3 separate regions of the Homo sapiens genome follow, and regions 2 and 3 are each linked to region 1. Evidence: promoter capture Hi-C in human tissues and cell types (Jung and others, 2019). All regions are on one chromosome and are shown on one strand. The core of a region is centred on a gene start or on the middle of the fragment in contact, and the rest is flanking DNA. Distances in the headings are between cores, read along the strand shown. Region 1 holds the start of OTUD5 (OTU deubiquitinase 5). Region 2 overlaps LOC105373195 (a long non-coding RNA gene). Region 3 holds the start of GATA1 (GATA binding protein 1).

What was found. Contacts are between HindIII fragments. The study calls those that stand out against the background at their distance.
Region 2: a contact is called between a fragment that was not itself captured here and the fragment with the promoter of OTUD5 in region 1, in 1 of the 25 tissues and cell types used here (dorsolateral prefrontal cortex).
Region 3: a contact is called between the fragment with the promoter of GATA1 here and the fragment with the promoter of OTUD5 in region 1, in 1 of the 25 tissues and cell types used here (pancreas).

The regions. Positions count from the first base shown.
Region 1 is chrX:48,954,878-48,959,558 of GRCh38, forward strand. OTUD5 (OTU deubiquitinase 5) reads right to left here and starts at 2,730. Exons shown (of 9, transcript NM_001136157.2): 1 at 2,100-2,730. The coding sequence starts at 2,693. It also overlaps the pseudogene RNU6-722P. RefSeq lists silencers at 2,347-2,406, 2,777-2,826, 3,027-3,186 and an enhancer at 3,287-3,476. The HindIII fragment of the contact is 5,335 bases long and covers 1,022-4,681 here.
Region 2 is chrX:49,141,350-49,146,030 of GRCh38, forward strand. It overlaps LOC105373195 (a long non-coding RNA gene), which reads right to left. Exons shown (of 3, transcript XR_007068230.1): 3 at 1-4,170. Among named protein-coding and RNA genes, the nearest start is that of MAGIX, 19 kb to the right of the region's middle. The HindIII fragment of the contact is 3,834 bases long and covers 195-4,028 here.
Region 3 is chrX:48,784,393-48,789,073 of GRCh38, forward strand. It overlaps GATA1 (GATA binding protein 1), which reads left to right and starts at 2,198. Exons shown (of 6, transcript NM_002049.4): 1 at 2,198-2,253. RefSeq lists cis regulatory regions at 225-885, 1,325-2,445. The HindIII fragment of the contact is 13,466 bases long and covers 1-4,681 here.

The sequences.
Region 1 (4,681 bases), core at 1,480-3,979:
CATAGAAAGTAGGAGGACCTTCTTGGCCCTGGCCACGAGGGAGCTCTGGATAAGGGGTTCATATGACCCTGAAGAGCATCCAGGTCCTTCTGTCCAATGGGAGAGGATGACCTCACGTTCCTCTCCCTGGACAGAAAGGATTGCCTGGTGTGGTAGGAGGAGAGCCTCATGCCCAAGTGGGAGCCAGGCCCCCAGTCCCTAAGGCAAACGGTATCTTGTCCCAGAGAGAAAGCTTGGGCCCAGACTCTTTTCCTCAGAATCCTACCCTATTCATGTCCCCAAAAGGAGTTGGGAGTCTAAGGCCCAAGTCCCCGAGGCAGGAAGTCTTATGTCCCTAAATGACCCCTAAGACTAGGGTGTATGTAAGTTGTCTGAGGTGAGGTGACAGTACCCTCAGGGCAGGTTCAGAAATCAGGTCCTAAGGTGGGGAACAGGCCTTCACACACCTGAGTTATGATTCAAACCCTTGGAGGTAGACTCAGGACCCTGTTCCACAGGGATCCTTTATCCATGCCCCAAGGGAAGAGTCTCAGGGCTCAGGTCTGGGGGGAGGAGTCCTCCTGTTTCTCAGGTGTACATCTTAAGTTCCTTGAGGAGGAAGCTCAGACCTTACCTCTAGACACACAAGTCACCAAGGTATGTATGAGTCTCCTGTCCCTGAAGGAAAGCTCAAGTGTCCTTGGCAGAGTGGGTCTCAGGCCCTTAAAAGTAGGCAAAGATCTGTAGGGAGGCCCCAGACATCATCTCTGGGATCCCATGTTGCCCATGTCCCCTGAGTAGTCGTCTCAGGCTCAAGTTCCCAAGGCATGGGTCGTATGTCCCTGACAAAAAGCTTAGGCCCAAGGTGGGAGGGCCTCAAACCCCTGTTACAGAGGGGAAAATGGGATACTGTATCCCCAAGGTATGTTTCAGTTCCTTATAATTGGGGTAAAAGGGTCACATATGCTCGTGGGGTGGGGAGTCTCAGATCCCCAAAACCACTCAGACACCAGCCTTGAGAAGAAGGATCTCCTAAAGACTTCACCTTGTCTGAGACCTTTGCAGCAGGACACCAGGCCCCTGAAGAGGCCTCAGACTCGGTCTCTAAAAACCTCAGTCCATAAGCAGGTGGATCTTAGGCCCTAGGATCCAACGCTGTGAGTCTCATTTTCCTGAAGAAAGGTTCAGGCCCCTGGTGGGGGTGCTGAGGGCCCATCTCTTCTTACAAGAAGCTTAAGATCCTGAAGCGGTTCAGGCCCTTGTCTCCCAAGAGGTAGGTCTCAGGCCACTGATAGGAAATGCAGACCTTTGTCACTCAGAAAGGAGATAAGTAAAGCTGCTGGTCATTGGGTGTTGGTTTTGGTCCCTGTCCCCAAGGGCAAGGGAATCATATCTCCCTGTGAAAAGTCTTACATCCCTGGAAAAAGCTTAGAAGATCCCTATCCTTAAAGGGGGCGTGTGTGTGTGTGTGTGTGTCAGGACCTTGATTCTAGAAGCAGGACTCTCAGGCCCCTGAAGACAGACTTAGGACCCTTGAGGTCTCAGGTCTGGCTATTCAGTGGTCCTGTGCAGTGTTACCCAGCGAAGCGGGAGAGGATTGTCCTATATGCAGAGTGTCTCAGACTCTTGAAAGGGCTTAGGCTCCTTGGGGATGTTCAGCCCCGATCTCCGAGGTCTCCACCTTATTTGACTTTCCTGGAAGGGGAATCTCAAACTTCTATCCCAGAGGAAAAGAGCTCTTAAGCCACTGAACACATACCTAAGTCTCTTGGGAGACCTGAGACTCCTACTCAAGAGGGGCGCGATCCTACCTGTATCTCTTGGAGAATTCCCACCTATTGGCCCTATATGATGAGGTCCCAGGGACTGGAATGACGACTATAGACCTTAAAAGAGACCTCGGATCTTTAAGTCTGACACCTTACCGTAGGCCTCTAGCCCCAAAATCCTGGAGGGGAGGAAAGAAGGTGTCTCACATCCCTACCGCCAGAGAAGACTGTCAGGCCCAGTGAAAACGCCTAGATCCCTTGGGGCGATCTCAAACAGCCTTCCTTGAGTCCCTTCACAGTCTGGGGGTCCCATCTGCCGTGGCCGCTCACCCCTCACCCCACAGCTCTTACCTGCTCGACAGTGGCAGGGTCCATAGCCTCGATGCGTGCTGCAGCCGCCTCATACTCGTCCTCACTGTTGTAGCCTGCGCCGACCTCCTCACGCTCGGGACTGCCCCCGCCAACCGCGCCAACCCCGGGAGCTTGACGTCGCCGCTTGCTGTGCCCAGGCCCGGAGCAGCAGCCGCCCACGCCTACGGCACCACCCACACCCACCACCACGCCCGCGGCACCCACACCCGCCGCCGCTGCGCCCAGCGCGTCGCCGGGACCGCCGCCGGGACCACCTGGGCCCCCGCAAGGAGGTGGAGAAGCCTGTTGTGGCCGGGGACCCGCCACTGCACCAGGCGGCACGGCCAGCGCCCAGCGATGAAGAGCGCCCGGCGGTCCTGGTAGCGGGCCTTGAGGCGGTGGCGAAGCTCGCGGACGGGCCCCCACGACGCCGGAGTCACGGTCGCGATCGCCGCCGCCCACGCCCGTGCCGCCGCCGCCCACGCCCACACCTCCGCCGCGCCGCGGCGCCGGGGGCATCGGCCCGGGCGGCGGCGGCTCGTTGGCGGGGTCGGCGTCGGGAGGCGGCGGCTTCTTTTTGGGGAGTATAGTCATGGCTGCACTGCCGAGTACCCCCCAACAAACCCGGCGCGGGGCACGCCGGGAGAGAACCCGGATGAGGGGGCTAGTGTAGTGCGCGAGGCACGACGGGAACGGCGAGACCCGGATAAAGGGATCGCGGCACCGGTTCGAGAACCCTCGGCGGCGGAGGAGGCGGCGGCGGCGGCGGCGGCGGTGGCGGCGCGCGGGTCACGCCGAGAGGAGAACCCGGATGTAAAGTCCAAGATGAAGGCAGTGCGGCGAGTTTGTCTTAGCCTTCTCTCCAAGTCCAGCAAGTTTATTGCTACGCTTGTTCCGGCCTTCTGCTTCAAAGGAAACAGAACCAAAACAAGCACCTCTTCGCTCCGCCCCCTCGCAGGTTCTTGCACTACCGGGTGGGGCCCCGGGGCGCTGCGCACGCGCGCCAGGGCACAGCCCCGCCCCTTACTCGGAAGTACGTGGGCAAAATCGCCGCCGCCGCCGCCACAACAATTGCAACACCAACCAATTGAGCAGCTGCGTGGGACCTCGACGACGCCCACGGGCCAATCACAGGCGAGTGCTCGCCCTCCGGTGCCCTCCGTCTCAAATTTCAGTCAAAGTCGACACCCTGGTTCCCAGCCTTTCTCCCCGTCAGTTCCGTCTTGCTCTTCACTTTTCTCCCCGAAGCTCTGACCTGCAGGCGTCGGTACTGCGGACGGACAGCGTGGCCTGTCCCACGTACGACAGGAAAAACACCTCCCCTCCAGGATTCCAACTTGAACGCTGTCAGCCGGAATGACTGGAAAACATCAACACTCCCGGGAGCATAGCTGGCCCCTGTAGCGTCACTTCCGGTCCCACCCACCTACAAATACCCTTCCGGGGGAGGCGGACACCGCTTCGCCCCGGCAACAGCCTGAGTTCTGCGGTGATTGGTTAAGAGACGCCGTCACTCGCGGCATACCGACCAACCTTGGGACAGACAGGCGCCGTGGGGACAGTGGTTGTTTGGGAAACAGACACGCCTTCTCTGGCACCACAGCACTCTCGGCCTCGCGTTGACCTCCCCGCCCCTATGGCTAGTGCGCAGGCGCGGCCCAGCCTTTTTTTTTTTTTTTTTTTTTTTTTTTCCTAATTGAGACAGGGGTCTCACTCTGTCGCCCAGGTTGGAATGCAGTGGCGCGATCATAGCTCACTGCAAACTCCAACTCCCAGGTTCAAGCGATCCTCCCGCCTCAGCCTCCCGAATAGCTGGGACCACAGGCGCGCACCACTACGACCGGCTAATTTTTTTTTCACTTTTTTGTAGGGACAAAGTCTCACTATGTTGCCCAGGCTGATCTCCAGCTCCCGGGCTCAAGCGATCCTCCCGCCTCGGCTTCCCAGAGTGCTGGGATTACAGGCGTTAGTCACCGCGCCTGGCCAAGCCCAGCCTTTTTCTAAAACTGAGTTTGCTTGGGTCGATCGAGGTTTATGAAAGCTCTGTCACCAGTCAGCGTCTCAAAATGGGGTTGGCAGAATCCCTGCTATTGAGTAGCTGGAGAGCTACACGCTAATCCTAGCTCTGCCCTTCCTGTCTGAGTGATCTTTGTCAGTCATTTAAAACCCACCCCGTCCTCAATTTTTGTTGTTGTTGTTTACTTTTTTATAGAACGCTTCACGTATTTGCGTGTCATCCTTTCGCATAGTGCCATGCTAATCTCTGTATCGTTCTAATTTTAGTATATGTGGTGCGAAGTGAGCACCCATCCTTAATTTCTATTCTATAAATTGGCAATAATTCTAATCCGAGGATCAGAGATTAATGCTTGTGAAGGGCCTGGTGCTGTGCCCAGCACATAGGAAGTGTTCAATAAAGTAGTCTGCATGGTGGTGCAGTGGAAGGATCCCAGGCTTTGGAGCCAGAAAGACCTCAGTTCCAGGCACAGATGGACCATTACCAACTGTATGACCTTGAGCAAGTCATTGTGTCACTTTTGAGATTACCCATGTGTAAAACAGGAATGATAATACCTGCCCAG
Region 2 (4,681 bases), core at 862-3,361, 190 kb after region 1:
TCCAGTTCCATCGATTCCTAGAGTTACATACTCTCCTGTTTTCCAGCAGGGATCAAGGGGATTGGTAATTAGTAGTTCAATGGGTTACAGTGACCACTAGTGCAGGAAGAGTTACTCTTTCCTTTTTGAAGGCGGACAGGGTCCTTCTCATCTTTTTTTCCAGGTGGCCTAAATGACACAGGACCAGTAACTACATTCATCACTTCACAGTCCTAATTCATGACAAACATACTTATTTTCTACTATATAGCCCCTTTCCCAATCTAGAGAGCCACATCTTATTCTATTTCCATATGGGTCACTGTTGATTGCTGCACAGGCATCAAATTTTAAGATAATTTGTTTGGGGACTCCTTTCTCTTCTGTTCTAGTTATTACTTTACTAGTATCAGCTTTTCCCCAGCTGCCAGTCCTCGATCTTATTTCAAAAACAGTAGTCATAGGGGGGCTCAGATGGGTTATAGTACACATCAGACTGGTCACTTCCTGGGCTACATACCTTGTATAGAGTAGCATTATACAAACAAGTTCCTTTTAGAGTCCCAGTACACTCATACTAACTATAAAATAATAGGACTGCAGCAACCTTTTGTCCTACCTTAGTGACTTGATTTTGTCCTACCTTAGTGACTGGGAACAGTTCTCAGTCTGAGGAAGGTCAGCTGAAGTCCTTACTGTACAAGTCCAAAATTTAAGGAAAATGAGTCCCACGATGAGTTTTCTCATGCTTTGGCCATGCGTGGACCAGTCAGCTTCTGAGTGTGACTGGAGCAGGGCTTGTCATCTTCTTCAGAGTCACTTTGCAGGGGTTATCTAGGCTTGGTCTCACCTCCCAGGTCTCAGGTGCTGCAGGTTTTACCTGGCTGTGTTGGATCCAGGCTGGGATTCCCTCTATCTTTACGGCTGTGGGAGTGGTCAAGATGATGGTCTGGGGTCCTTTCCACCGTGGCCGCAAGGAGCCTATGTTCCAATCCTTGATCCACACCTGATCACCTGGGGAGAAAGGGTGAACTGGGGAGAATAAGCTGCCGGGGCACCTCTCATTTACCCAGGCTGAAATTGTGTAATTTTCCCTAAAGCCTGTAGCTGTCGCTGTAACGCAATTTCACCTAGCTCTCGAGGAGTGCCTGGGAGTCCCCGTAGTATGGGAGGGGGCCTATGATATAATATTTCATAAGGGGAATATCCTGTTCTTCTAGAAGGGGTACATCTAATCTTAAATAATACCATAGGGAGAGCTTGTACCCACTTTAATCCTGTTTCTTGACACACTTTCCCTAAACTATTTCCGATAGTGCGATTCATCTGCTTCACCTTTCCGGAACTTTGTGGTCAGTAGGTGGTATGTAGTTTCCATGTGATCCCCAATACCTTTGCTGTCTTCTGTAACAAGTCAGCCACAAATGCCGGCCCGTTGTCTGAGCTGATTTGTAAGGGCAGTCCAAACCTAGGGATGAGATCTCGGAGAAGCACATGGGTTACTTCACGAGCTTTCTCGGTCCGTGTTGGATAGGCCTCCACCCACCCAGAGTATGTACACACTAGAACTAGCAAATACTTGTTACCTCCACATTTGGGCATCTTGGTGAAGTCTACTTGGAGATCTTCAAAAGGGGCTGCTCCATAAGCTTGTATGCTGGCGGGGATGGTTAGACCTTGCCTAGCATTGTGCTGCCAGAAGGTGACACACTGCTGCGCCACTGTTTTGGCAAGGGCTGAAAGATGCAAGATGTAGAAGTACCAGCCTAACAACTTTTCAAGTGACTCTTGGCCTAGGTGGGTGGTCTCATGCACAGCCAGTATGACTGCGGCTCCTAGCAGTTGTGGCACAGCTATTCTTCCATCCGATAACTGGATCCATCCCTCTTCTATCACCTGCCCTCCCTCTGCCTGGAGAAAGTCCTTCTCTTTAGAATAAGTAGGTACAAGGTCAGGTGCCTGAGGGAGCAGGGGGCTGTGACTGATGCCTGGTAGGGGGTGGATGCTGCTTTTCGAGCCTCTGAGTCAGCTTGGGGGTTCCCCAAGGCAATCGAGGTAGAAGCTCGCTGGTGTCCTCTGCAGTGCATGAGCCACCTTTTGGGGCTTCCACACTGCCTCTAATAATTGCAGGATCTCTTGCTGATACTTTATGTCTTTTCTCCCAGCGTTCAACAGGGCTTTTTCCTTGTAGAATGCCCCACGCAGTTGGAGAGTTAAAAAGGCATACCAAGAGTCAGTGTAAATGTTTACAGTCTTACCTTCACTTAGCTCAAAGGCCAGAATTAAAGCAATGAGTTTGGTCTTGCGGGCTGAAGTGCCCTAGGGCAACGATTTGGCTTCAATGACAGCATCCAGGATTACCATATCCTACACACCTCTCTTCTTGTGGGTCGACAAAGCTGCTCCCGTCCACGTACAGCTCCCAGTCTACTGTTGTCCAAGGATGGTCTCGGAGGTCGGGCCTGCTAGAATAAACTGACTGCAACACCTCTACACAGTTATGTTCAACTTGGCTCTCTGATACCAGGAGCAAGGTGGCGGGGTTCAGGGTGTTGCAAACTTCAATGGTTATGCGGGGATTCTCACAGAGCAAGCTTTGGTACCTAGTTAGTCTAGCATTCGTTAGCCAGTTACGTCCTTTGGTGTTCATTAGTGTTACCACAGCATGGGGAGGCCTTTATGTTTTTTCTTTTTTTTGAGATGGAGTCTCACTCTGTTGCCCAGGCTGGAGTGCAGTGGTGCGATCTTGGCTCACTGCAAGCTCTGCCTCCCGGGATCACGCCATTCTCCTGCCTCAGCCTCCCGAGTAGCTGGGACTACAGGCGCCCGCCACCATGCCCGGCTAATTTTTCTGTATTTTTAGTAGAGATGGGGTTTCACCGTGTTAGCCAGGATGATCTCGATCTCCTGACCTCATGACCCGCCCGCCTCAGCCTCCCAAAGTGCTGGTATTACAAGCGTGAACCACCGTGCCCAGCTAGGGGGCCTTTATGTTTAGGTTTTGCCCTAAACATAAAGTTAGGGCAAGAGGTAGCTTATCTGCCTCTAGTGCTAGCAGGGCAGTTGCTGCCAAGGCTCTTAAGCACAGGGGCCAGGCTCAATTATCGACAGATAATTCTTGTCGATACTGGTGCTGAACATTCAGTAGTAACCACCCCAGTCGCCCCCTTATCCAAAAAGACTATTGATATAATTGGAGCCACGGGGGTTTCGGCAAAGCAAGCTTTCTGTTTGCCCCAGACCTGCACTGTCAGGGGGCATGAGATAATTCACCAGCAATTCATCCTGCCTGGACTTTCTCCAGGCAGAGGGAGGGCAGGTGATAGAAGAGGGATGGATCCAGTTGTCGGATGGAAGAATAGCCATGCCACAACTGCTAGGAGCCGCAGTCATACTGGCTGTGCATGAGACCACCCACCTAGGCCAAGAGTCACTTGAAAAGTTGTTAGGCTGGTACTTCTACATCTCGCATCTTTCAGACCTTGCCTTAGAAACTCCATCTAGCTCTTTGGAGAGGTAGGCTACCGGTCTTGGCCAGGGCCCCACCATCTGGATTAAAACTCCAATGGCCATTTTTTCTCTCTCTGACACATACAGTGTGAAAGGTTTTGTTAGGTCAGGTAGCCCCAGGGCTGGGGCCGACATGAGTTTCTCTTTTAACTCATGAAAAGCTCATTGCTGTTGGGACCCCCATTTGAAAAGTTCTGTGTCTCCTCACTTTGTGACTCCGTACAGGGGCTTAGCCAATACTGCAAAGTTTGGGATCCACAATCTGCAGAACCCTACAGCTCCTAAGAATTCTCTCACCTGCCTTCTGGTCTTAGGCTCCAGCAGGTTGCAGATGACTTGCTTTCTTTCTGATCCCAGGCTGTGCTCTCCCTGTCGGATAGTAAATCCCAGGTAACATACCTGCTATCTGCAGATCTGAGCTTCCTTCTTGGACACCTTATACCTATAGTCCTCCAGGTGCCAGAGCAGGGTATCCATTCCCTTGGCACACATGACTGCCATGGGGTGTCCCAGCAGGAAGTTGTCAACGTACTGGAGCAGCACGAAGCCTAGGTCTCTGGTGGGAATTTTCTGGAGGTCTCGAGCCAGTGCCTCCCCGAAGATGGTGGGGGAGTTCTTGAACCCTTGGGGGAGCCGGGTCCAAGTGTACTGAGTGGTGACAGCTGACTCCAGATCCTCCCACTGAAAGGCAAACAGTTTTTGGCTCTCAGGAGATAGTCTGATGCTAAAGAAAGCATTTTTTAGGTCCAAGCAGGTGAACCAGCTGTCCTCAGCTGGCAGCAACCCCAACAATGTGTATGGGTTGGATGCAAAGTCACTTTGCTTGGTTGACCATATGCAAATCCTGTACTGGCCTGTAGTCCTTGGTCCTCAGCTTGGGAACAGGTAGGAGGGGAGTGTTCCATGGAGACTGACAAAGGACTATAATTCCAAAGGCCCTCAGATGCTTGAGATGGACCCGGATGCCCTCAAGGGCTTCTCTGGGGACCAGGTACTGCTTTTGCCTGACCAGCTGGGCCCCAGGCTTAACTTCTATTAGTATGGGGGCCTGGTTGATTGCCAACCCTGGCGGGTTGTCTTCCTCCCACACCCTTGGCCACCGCTTAGCCAGAGCTGGTCCTATCTCTTGGCCTGGCTCAGCTAAGAAGAGTCTCCATTCCTCCTCCCGAGGAACCATAAGGGCCATGATGAC
Region 3 (4,681 bases), core at 948-3,447, 170 kb before region 1:
ACCCCATATATATGTACAACTATTATGTGTCAATCATAAATTTAAAGAAATAAAATTAGTTTTAGTGTCAGTATCAATATTACAATATTGGTATTACTCTTAGTGTCAGCATATTATTAGCATTAGTACTATAAGTAGTAGTAGGGTTAGAAAGGGCTATGTACTCTCCCTTGTATGCAGTAGGTACTCAATAAATAAATAGGGGTACTTAATATTTATTGAGATTTCAGATTCAAGTAAGTTAAGATCATGTAACATGGGTTAAAACTCATTTAGTCTCCCCAGTCACTGCATGGAGTGGCTTATTGGGGTATATTATTACCCCATTTTTACAGATGAGGAGCTAAATTCCAGAGGGGATGGTAACTCTCCCAAGGTCACCTGATCCATTAGTGGTTAGGGCAGTCTATGAACGAGGATGAGCTGGCTCTAGAGACCATCTCCTGAAACCACTGCCACTTAAGTCAGAGGTGTCTTTGTATTCGTTCTCCTTATTACTGATGAGGGTTCAGCATGGGGCGTGGCACACCAGCAGGAGCTCAATAAATAGGAATTCATGGGCTTGCTCTCTTTCCTCCTCAAATCTCCCATTGCATATGAGGACACTGAGGCTCAGAGGAGTGAGATAAGAATGGTAAGATCCCTCCAGGGTGGGCCAGTGGGCAAGCTGACCCCACTGACCTGGGGCTCCACCCTTGGCCTCTGCCCTTTGTAGGTCTCAGTCTCCCCATCTGTAGACTAGGTGGGCAGGACAGCTCCTTGTCCCACGTGTGCATGTGTGTCAGATGCTTTCATATAGAAAAAGTGCTCAGGTTAGGTACAAGTCTATGTGAGGTCTATGAGACACTGTGGTTGTTGTCATTAATATTTGGAGGAGGTGGGGCAGGGCAAGAGTGTGGGGACTGGGGTGCGGAGGCCTAGCCACATTCTGGTTGTCCCCTGCTGAGGGCTGAGGGCAGAGCCACAGGCTACATCAATCCACATCCTCCCATCCTACCTGCATGGGCACCACATGCCCAGGGTGTGATCCAGTCTGCCTGGACCTTCTTCTGAGTCTGTCTCTGAATATCCCTCTGTCTCTGTCTCCCTTCTCAGTTCTCCACTTCTGTCTTTGGCCTCTTTCCCTTTCAGGTTTTATCTGTCACTTCTGTCCATCTCTGTCTCTCATTCTCTCTTTGCCTCTCTCTATATGTCTTTAATGGTCTCTGGTTCTCCCCGGGTGTCTCGCCCTCTTTGTCTCTCCTTTTCTTTTGTGCCCTCTCTCTGCCTCTTTCCACGTCTGTCTCCTTCTCTATTCATCTCTGTCACTCTCTTTCTCCCCATTTCCATCTCTCTCCGCCTATCTCTGTTTTTGTTTGTCTCTCTGCCTCTGTCTCTCCCACTCCACCCCTTTCCTTTCCTACCCTATACCACTCCTCGAGGAATCATCCCTGGCTCCCACCTCAGTTTCCCGCCTCCAAGGCAGCATGGCGGGCAAGAAGTTGAGGCCACTGTCCCTGGGTGTTCCTACCCCCACACCCTCACCCCAAGACAGCCTGTTACTGCGGCGCCAACAGCCACGGTCGCCTACATCTGATAAGACTTATCTGCTGCCCCAGGGCAGGCCGGAGCTGGCGTAAGCCCCAGTGGGGCGCTAAGTGAGTGTGCCCCTGCCTCCCGCCAGCACTGGCCTGGCCTGCAGGCTTAGCCTGGGTCATCAAGGTATCCCACAGGCTCTAGTTCAAATCCAGCAGAACCTCTCTGAGCCTCACTCTTCTCACCTGCAAAATGGGTACAGCCACATCCCTTCTCTCCCTGCAGCCAGGAAGACGCACATACACAGGAGTCTAGCCCACACCGGCCCCGCACAAATTAAGGGCTTTACTCTCTGAAAAGCCCAGTGAAGTCATGAAACCATATCTGCTATTTTCATTTATCTTGGTTTCAGCCTATTTTGCTTGTCTGGACACTACAGTCCACGGGAGCCTAGGTCGAGCGAGGTCCAAGAATCCCCAGGGTGGGCAGGGAGGGTGGAAGAGGGCCTCCAGTGCCCAAGAGGTGCCCCACAAGCATGGGACCCGCCCCCTCCCCTGGACTGCCCCACCCACTGGGGCACCAGCCACTCCCTGGGGAGGAGGGAGGAGGGAGAAGGGAGGGAGGGAGGGAGGGAGGAAGGGAGCCTCAAAGGCCAAGGCCAGCCAGGACACCCCCTGGGATCACACTGAGCTTGCCACATCCCCAAGGCGGCCGAACCCTCCGCAACCACCAGCCCAGGTCAGTCTCAGCCCCCAGAGAGCCCCCACCAAGGCAACCCTGGGCCTGCTGCCCCTACCCTTATGCTTGCTCCAGGCTCCCCAACCCACAGCTGGTCCCCAAAGTGTCAGCCAGCCCTGAATCCCTTTACAGCTCCTCCAACCCACCTGTCTTTCCAACTCCCATTTCTACCCCAAATCTACCCCCTAAACCCCACCTCTTTCTGCCCTCTCATCCACTCCGTCCAAGATATCTATATCCTCTGGATCCCTTCACTTTGCTCGCTATACCCCTAGGTCTGTCTCCCCTAAACACTAACTCTGTCTCCCAAAACATGACTTTATCTCCCCAAATCCTTTCCCTGTCCCATATCTGATTTCCACTCACCCAAACTTGTCTCTGTCTCCCTGACTTCTCCTCCAAACCTCACTTTTCTGCTCCCAAACCCCTTATCTGCTCTACAACGCCTTGTCTTTGCCCCACTCTCTCTGAGCCCCCAAACCTGTCTCTGATCTGCCAAACCCTAGCTCCATCCTCTTACCACCATCTCTGCCTTTCAAACCCACTCTTTGTTCCCAATGACTTCTCTCTGATCTCCGCAAACCATTTATCTCTCCCAACTCCCTGCCTGCTCAGTAAAATATCTTTGTCACTTCAAACACCAAGTCAACTCCCCAAAATCTGTTCTGCCGCATGAACCCTCATGTCTGCCTTCCCCAAACCGTATCTCAGCCCTAAAACACATCTCATTGTCTCCCTGAATCTCTCCAGCTCCAAGCCTTTCTCTACTCCAATTCTATCTTGGCTTCTCAAACTCCCCTTTACTAGCCACATTCTGTCTGCCCAAACAGATCTTTGACTCCTAAACTCCATCTCTCCTCCAGAAAAACCCTTGAACTCCCCAGACTTTTCTATGACCCTCAGAATCTGACTCCCACACTACTTCTCAACTTTATTTCTGACTCTCAAACTTCGCCCCGATCCCCCAACCTCGTCTGTTTTCACAACCTATTCCTGAGCCCAAAATGTGTCTCTGAACTTCCAAGCTCGTCTCTGCTCCACAACCCCGCCCATATCTGCCTCCCCACAAACTCCATGGCTACACCCCAAACCTCTCTGACTTAACCCCATATCTGACCTTCAAATTCCACCTCTATCTCCCCCTAAGCCCCATATCTGCCCCCTAGACCTTATATCTGCTCCCTTCAGCCCGGTGAGACCCTCCCTTGAGGGCTGGGATTGGAACGTTACCTGGGGTGAGGGGCTGGGGCCGAGGGAGAGTGGAGGGTGCCAGCTGCTGCCTGCTGCCGCCGTTGGGGCAACACTTACTCTAGTGGGGCAGCTGATAAGGAGCTTTCATATCCCCCAGCCTCGAGATAAACTTTATCTCTGTCCGGAGAGTGATAACTGGGGGTGAGGAGGCTGGGCCCCTGCCATGGGAGGGGTGGGCAGCCCTGGACTCACCAACGTGTGAGGTGCAGGGGTTGGGGGCAGTGGGGCTGGAGGGAGATCATGGTGGGTAAGGTGGAGTTGAGGGGATGAGGGAATAGTGGTGAAAGAGTGAGCAGAAGACACACAATGAGACAGGGAAGAGAGGGAGAAACAGGGAGAGATGGGAAGAGAGAGACAGAGACACAGAGACAAAGAGCAAGAGACAAAAGAGACATGAAGAGAAAGGAAAAACAGAGAGAGAGAAACTCAACGAGTAAGAGACAGAGACAGACAGATGGCCGGAGAAAAAGAAGGAAAGACCCGGGAGCAGAAAAGGAGATAGAAATGCAGAGATACACGCAGGTAGCACTGTGAAGAGGCAGAGACTAACACAGAATTAGAGACAGAGAGGAAAGAGATGGAGACCAAGATGGGGAAGCAAAACACTCTCTTCAGAGAGCAACAGCAGGCACCCTGGGGCTGAGAAGGTGTTGGCGGTGGGCACACTTGTGGCCCATCTCTTTCCTAGCATAACTCCCAAGCCTGGGCCTGCCCCTTAGCCTGTCTATACCATGGGTCATGTAAGCAGGAGTGAGGGGCAGTTTGAAGACAGCCTTCTAGTCTAGCCCTGTCACTCCACCCTACAGACACAGAAACAGAGCAGGCCAGCACAATAGGGCCAGGGCCAGCATTCCAGGCTCCTTATCCTGAGCTGCATGTGGCTGGGTACGGTCAGGGGTATGGGACTAGTAAGAGGCACGTGGACATAAGGTCAGAGGGCCCAAAGAGAGGGAAACAGAGGGAACAGACAAACAAGCAGGAAGAGTGGGAGAGATGCAGAGATGTTCAGAGAGATAGGAGAGGAGAGGGAGAAAGCAAGAGTAACAGAAAGAGAGAGCCAGAGAGAGAAACATGGGAAGACAGAAAAGAAGACAGAAAATCATCAAACATTACAAAAGCACAGAAAGAGGTCGGGCGCAGTGGCTCACGCCTATAACCTCAGCACTGTGGGAGGCCG